Linked DNA regions of Homo sapiens: region 1 is linked to region 2. The links are contacts of gene promoters, found by promoter capture Hi-C in human tissues and cell types (Jung and others, 2019). All regions are on one chromosome and are shown on one strand. The core of a region is centred on a gene start or on the middle of the fragment in contact, and the rest is flanking DNA. Distances in the headings are between cores, read along the strand shown.

Region 1 (3,419 bases), core at 745-3,244, 760 kb before region 2:
GTCTCCTAGGTCTGCGATGTTGCTCAGTTTGACCACCAGGGGGCAAACTGAGCCTACGCGGTCTCCTCCACCCAGTTTCCAAACTCCAGAATCAGAATGTCAGAGCTATAACTGGCTTTAAAAAACCATCCAAGGCTTCTAATCAAACCTTTTTGTTTCAAGAGAAGAAAACCAAGGTCTAAAGAGGGGAAATAATTTGCCAAAGCCACATAGTGAGTGACTAGTAAAGTAGAAACTAGAAAACAAATCTTTTGACTCACTACTCCAGTTCTACACATGTTCCACACCAAGCTTTCTCCAGTCTCATATTTAATTCTAGAATACATCGAGTTTTAATGCTATATCTCTATGAAAAGATTCTCTCCCAATTAGATTGTAAGAACTTGGGGCAAGGGACCATGTTCTGACCAACATTGTACATCTTCTCCTCTAGCACACTCTTCTGCAAGGCAACCTGTATGCCCAATACAAAAAGGAAGATTTCAACAAATATTGTTAAACTGCTATATGGCAAGTCCAATAATGGTTCCTGATAACACAGAGATGAAATATACCATCTCTGCCCTCATGATACTCCCTATCTAGGGAGGGAGACAGATACAACAACACCTATAATTTAAGAGATGAGCATTTAACAGTGATGTAGAAAAGGCAATATGGAGGCACAGAAGAGGAAGTGACTATGTACCTGGATGAAATACAGAATTAGGTCCTAAAGGAAGAATGAGAACTCATCAGAGAAGGGAAATGGGAATTACAAATAGAAAGAATAGCAGAATAAGCCAACACAAGGAGGCATGGAGGCATGTGTTCAGTGAAAATGACTCTGAGTAGCTACACACAGTATAGATAAGAAGTTGGACTGAAGCAGAGGAGGAGGAGTAAATAAGACTAAAAAGGAAGTCCGAGGTCAGCTGTAAAGTTGCTATTCATTTATTCAGTCATTCAACAACGTTAAATACTCCCATGTGCCGTGCAGTGCTGTTATTGATAATGATGGTGGTGAGATGATAATAAAAGTAAGGGGAATAATAATGATGATGAAAATACTAATGTGGGTGAATTCCAAGGATTTGGGGTCTTGAATCTAGGGTTCATTACTCATATGAATCAGATAACACAGATAAATATTCCATCCTCCATTTCTTTTCTTTCTTTTTTAAATTCATTTTCTATATCAATAGCACACCTACAAACATGGTGAACATTCCTAAAACCTGCCAGACTTTCCGTAAGAAGTGAGGCAAGCACCAACCCCACAAACTGACGCAGTACAAGAAGGGTAAGGATCCACTGTATGTCCAGGGAAAGCAGCATTATAACAAGAAGCAGAGTGGCTAGGGTGGGCAGACTAAGCCAATTTTCCAGAAAAAGGTTAAAACCACAAAAAAGACTGTGCTGAGCCTTGAGTGCATTGAGCCCAATTGCAGAGCTAAGAGAAGGCTGACTATTAAGAGATGCAAGCATTTTAAACTGGCGGGAGATAGGAAGAAAAGGGCCAAGTGACCTAGTTCAAAGCTTCATCTTTTTTTTAATTGTGAAGACAATAAAATATTGAAGTTAGGTTCACACACACATACAAAAAAATCTGTTATGTATTAGGCATTGTTCCAGGAGCTAGGGATATAGCAGTGATCAAAAATTAAAGTCCACAGCCAGACGCAGTGTCTCACACCTGTGGTCCCAGCACTTTGGGATGTCAAGACAGAAGGATGGCTTGAGCCCAGGAGTTTGAGACCAGACTGAGCAACATAGCGAGATGCTGTCTTTGTCTTTAAAAAAAAAAAAAAATAGAAAATAAAACAAAAAAAATTAAAGTCTAGGCTGTTGCAGAGCTTTTGTGCTCATGAGGGAGACAGATAATATACAAGTGAAAAATATGTTTCAGAGAATGATAAGAAAGGAAAGAAAACAAGGCAATAAGATAGAAAATTACTCAAAAGCAGGCATCATTACATAGATTGGACCAGGGAAACATCACTAAAGAAGTGACATTTGAGCTGAATGAAGTATTATCTGTAGAAAAGGTTGAGGGAAGAGCATTCCAAGCAGGAGAACTAGCAAGGGCAAAATCCCTGAGGAGGGACCAGGCAGCTTGATGTATCCCAGGGACAGAAAGAAGGCCCGTGTACTAGAGCATAGTGAGCACAGGGAGAGTGGTCTGAAGTCAGAGTGTAGACAGGGCCAGGGCATGGAAGGCTTTACATATTTGGCAAATGATTTGGATTTTATTCTTATTTATTTATTTAGAGACAGTGCCTTGCTCTGTTGTCCAGGCTGGAATACAGTGGTGCGATGTTGGCTCACTGCAGCCTCCACCTCCCAGGCTCAATCAATCCTCCCACCTCAGCCTCCAGAGCAGCTAGGACTACAGGCTTGTGCCACTACGCTTGGCTAATTTTTTAATTTTTTGTAGAAATGAGATCTCATGATGTTGGCCAGGCTGGTCACAAACTCCTGGACTCAAGTGATCCTCCCACCTTGGCCTCCCAAAGTGCTGGGATTACAGGTGTGAGCCACTGCACCCACCCTTTGGATTTTATTCTAAGTGCAATGGAGAGGTTTTAAGCAAAGAAGGGACTTCACTAATTTACTTTTCTTTTCTTTCTTTTTTTTTTTTTTTTTTTTCAGAGATGGGGTCTCACCCTGTCATCCGGGCTGGAGTGCAGTGGTGCAATCATGGCTCACTGCAGCCTTGACCTCCCAGGCTCAAGCAATACTCCTGCCTCAGCCTCCCAGGTAGCTGGGACTACAGGTACACACCATCATGCCCAGCTAATTTTTAAGTTTTTTGTAGGGACAGGGTCTCATTTTGTTGCCCAGGCTGGTCTCAAACTCCTGGGCTCAAGCAATCCTCCCACCTCAGCCTCCCAAAGTGCTGGGATTACAGGCATGACATATGACGCCTGGCCTGATTTACATTTTTAAAAGATAATTCTAGTGGCTCTTCATTCCCACCTTTAGGTGGACACAGTGCCTGCCACCTTCCAACTGCGTGACCCAAGTTGTATGGCACTGTTTTCTGGTGCTCTAACTGCATCCTCACAGACCTATTGAAAGAAGTCTCTGAGAACAAACTGCTTTTCTAAAGTCCCCTGAATGTGGAGGAGGTGAGAGAACAAGGTCCACTCTCTTTGATACTTGGTAAGTGAGGATGCCCCAGTAGAGGAGGCCTCTGGCCAGTGGCAGGGCTTAAGACTCTAGAAGAATGATGATCCCACTCCATGTCTTCTGCTGAAGACACCATGTCCCCACTCAGTTTTCCTCATGAGGGCTCTCTGACATTAAGGGCTATGTGTTCCCCATTCTGGTTTCCTGATACTTCCTCCTCTTGCTGTGTACAGATTGTCCTGGGAACAGAGGGCTCAATGAGGGAGAAAAAAGACTTGGGAATATTCACATAGCCATATGGAAACCTA
Region 2 (3,661 bases), core at 3-2,502:
TCTCTCTGTCTTTCTTTCCTCTCTTTCTTTCTTTTTTCCTACATGGCAAGATCTCCTCATGGCAGAAATAATCTGCCTTGACTTCTGTTTCCACGCTGCTTCTGCCAGGACCATGCGCTCGGCGTGTTTTTCTTTCCGCTATAATTATCCAGGCCCATCCCAGCTCTGGTCCCCTCAGCTGTTCCCTGGCAGTCCCTTCTGCTGGTGAAAACACATATGGCGCCGGCCTGACCAGGGTGTAAGTGTGTGAATATCAGGAAGATGACTGAACGTCTTTGGGACTCCGTTTCCTCATTGTAAAATGGAGGTTAATACCAGCCTTCTTCTACTCCCCAAACGCACGTGTTTGTCCCGGCCAGAGGGCCCAATTGTTGGCTGTTCACGCGTCAGTTACCCCCACAGGACGGGTCAGCCAATTAAAGGCGAACCAGGCCCGGTCCATCTCCTGACGCCTTTTCTCATCCCAGGGCTGGACAGGCAGCTGGCCTGGGCCCGGCTCTGCCTTGTCACGTGCGGGGGCCGGCCCGTTTGCTTGTCTGTGTGTAGGAGCGTGAGGTCACGCTGGGTGCTCCCGCCCCGCCGGGGCCTTTAGTGTCCTGGTCCCTAAACGCCAGGCCGCTCCACCGGGGGAGAAGGCGCGAACCCCAGCCGAGCCCAACGGCTGTTGTCGGTTGCCGGGCCACCTGTTGCTGCAGTTCTGATTGGTTCCTTCCCCCGACAACGCGGCGGCTGTAACCAATCGACAGCGAGGCCGGTCGCGAGGCCCCAGTCCCGCCCTGCAGGAGCCAGCCGCGCGCTCGCTCGCAGGAGGGTGGGTAGTTTGCCCAGCGTAGGGGGGCTGGGCCCATAAAAGAGGAAGTGCACTTAAGACACGGCCCCGCTGGACGCTGTTAGAAACCGTCCTGGCTGGGAAGGCAAGAGGTGTGTGACTGGACAAGACTTGTTTCTGGCGGTCAGTCTTGCCATCCTCACAGAGGTTGGCGGCCCGAGAGAGTGTGAGGCAGAGGCGGGGAGTGGCAAGGGAGTGACCATCTCGGGGAACGAAGGAGTAAACGCGGTGATGGGACGCACGGAAACGGGAGTGGAGAAAGTCATGGAGAGAACCCTAGGCGGGGCGGTCCCCGCGGAAAGGCGGCTGCTCCAGGGTCTCCGCACCCAAGTAGGAGCTGGCAGGCCCGGCCCCGCCCCGCAGGCCCCACCCCGGGCCCCGCCCCCGAGGCTTAAGCCGCGCCGCCGCCTGCGCGGAGCCCCACTGCGAAGCCCAGCTGCGCGCGCCTTGGGATTGACTGTCCACGCTCGCCCGGCTCGTCCGACGCGCCCTCCGCCAGCCGACAGACACAGCCGCACGCACTGCCGTGTTCTCCCTGCGGCTCGGTGAGCCTGGCCCCAGCCCTGCGCCCTTTGCGCCCCCCACGCTTGTTCTGCGTGCGCTGCCCGCTCTTCCATTTACCTTCTCTCCCACCCAAGTTTGTACTCTTTTCTTTCTCTCGGTTTTATTTTTTGTTTTTGTTTGTTTGTTTGAGACAGGCTTTCGCTCTGTCTCCCAGGCTGGAGTGCAGTGGCGCGATCTCGGCTCACTGCAGCCTCCACCTCCCAGGTTCAAGCGATCCGCCTGCCGAGTAGCTGGGATTACAGGCGCCCGCCACCACGCCTGGCTAATTTTTGTGTTTTGTAGAGATGGGGTTTCGCCATGTTGGCCAGGCTGGCCTCGAACTGCTGAGCTCAAGCAATCCGCCCGCCTCGGCCTCACAAAGTCCTAGAATTTTAGGCATGAGCCTCCGGGTCCGGCCTGTGCTAATCCTTTCTGTCCTTGGTTCTTTATTTCTCTTCTCTCTTTTTCTTAGTCCCTTTTGTTCTTTCCCTCTCCCGTTCAGTTGGCTGTCGTTTGAGCCTCCACCTTTTCACTCCCTCCTTTCCACCACGATGCCGAGCCCTGCCTTGGATGGGGACCATCAGCGATGACCACAATGACCTCTCCCTTACCAGGCAGCTCCAGGCAGTGTTCCTGCACCGCCTTTCCCAGGGCTTGGGGGCTTTTTCTAGTGGGCTTTGAGCTGCTCAATCTGGCCTCTGCAGGGCCGGCTCCCAGCCCTTCCAACCTCCTCACAGCCCGACCTGGGACCTAGCCAATTCCCGGAGAGTCTCTGTCCCATCGTGACCCCCTCACAACTCTCCCACTCACCAAAGTCTGATGACTGTGCTAGGGGGTGCTTATATAGAGTACTGAGTGTTACAAAAGCAGAAGTCTGGATGAGAACCAATTTGTGATATTAAGCAGGTGGGGTGGGGGTGGGGAGTGTACCTAGGTTCATTTTCCGCCCTGCTTTTCCCCTTTCCAGTGTGTGCACTTAACCAGTCCCTGGGCCCTGTTCCCCATCCCCCTCCAAGGCATGGATTGGGTGGGCTTGTGTGTCTTGGGGCAGGTGGCCCTTTCTAAACTCTCTGCCTTTGCTCACCCACAGGACACATAGTATGACCATTAGGTGTTTCGTCTCCCACCCATTTTCTATGGAAAACCAAGGGGATCGGGCCATGATAGCCACTGGCAGCTTTGAAGAACGGGACACCTTTAGAGAAGCTTGATCTTGGAGGCCTCACCGTGAGACCTTACAAAGCCGGGTAAGAGTCCAGTCCAAGGAAGAGGTCTCTTGCTGCCTCCTAACCCTGTGGTCTAGGGGCAGGAGTCAGCAGGGCATTAACAAAAATAATTACCATCCCCACCCCCGACAGTGAAGTGGCTCTTTCCAGTTCACAGAGCACTCTCACACCTCCCCGCTCTCATTCTGGCCCTTCAGCTGACTCGGACAAGCCAAGGATCTTGGTCCCCATTTTATAAAGGAGAAAACTGAGGCCCACGTGTAACAGTGATTGGCCCCAAGTCATCCCGGGAGCCAGCAGAAGAGCTAGGACAGGAACCTATTGTTCTAACTTCATATTGATGCTAGCTTTTGACTATCCCTGAAACCGAGATTGGTAATCAGCCCGGCTCTGAAACTGGTTATTTGCTGGGGACTGTAAAATAGGATTAACTATTTCTAGTCCTGCATTTTAATTGCTGTTAGTAGGGCCATCTTACCCACCCTCTGAAGGACCTGACTTGGCAAGCCCAAGGCAACATTCAGAATATGGCAGCTGAACCTCTGTGCACTTGTCTTTGGGCAGCAGCTGGGTCTTATTCTTCTCTGGCCTTCACAACATCCTGCAACCCAGCTCAAGGTCAGGAATGTGACAGACTCATGTCATCATATCTCTGATGCCCAGAGAAGGGATACCATTTGCCTGAGCCTTCTCAGTACTGTTTAATCAGCCTGTGAGAACTTTCCTTGTGAAAGGCCCTGTCTGTGCCTGGGGCTGATAAAACAGCAAGAACGAACTGAGGAGCTGGGCAGCAGTGCAAAGCAAATACTACCAGCTTTGGTGCCTGTAAGTGTGGCTCTTACTCATCTCACATGGAAATAAGGGCAGCCACCTTGCAGGGCTGCTCTGAGGATTGAGCTAATACAGTGCCCTGGGCGTTGGGGTGGGGAAAGTTGTGGAGCACCTCCTGGGGGAAGGGGGTGTCAGAGCAGGGAATCTGGGGAGTCCGAGGGCACCTTCATCAACCCAATCTGTCATTTGAGCACCAGTCTTCACTGAGCCTCGTGGGCAAGCTGGAGGGAAA

Evidence for each region. The method cuts DNA at HindIII sites, captures the fragments that hold promoters and counts their contacts. A contact is called where the count stands out against the background at its distance.
Region 1: a contact is called between a fragment that was not itself captured here and the fragment with the promoter of UCP2 in region 2, in 1 of the 25 tissues and cell types used here (dorsolateral prefrontal cortex).

What each region holds. Positions count from the first base shown.
Region 1 is chr11:74,736,575-74,739,993 of GRCh38, reverse strand. It overlaps the pseudogene RPL36AP38. Among named protein-coding and RNA genes, the nearest start is that of CHRDL2, 6.9 kb to the right of the region's middle. The HindIII fragment of the contact is 8,028 bases long and covers 1-3,419 here.
Region 2 is chr11:73,980,434-73,984,094 of GRCh38, reverse strand. It overlaps UCP2 (uncoupling protein 2), which reads left to right and starts at 1,252. Exons shown (of 8, transcript NM_003355.3): 1 at 1,252-1,374; 2 at 2,463-2,619. RefSeq lists an enhancer at 1-415 and silencers at 672-831, 1,132-1,341. The HindIII fragment of the contact is 13,644 bases long and covers 1-3,661 here.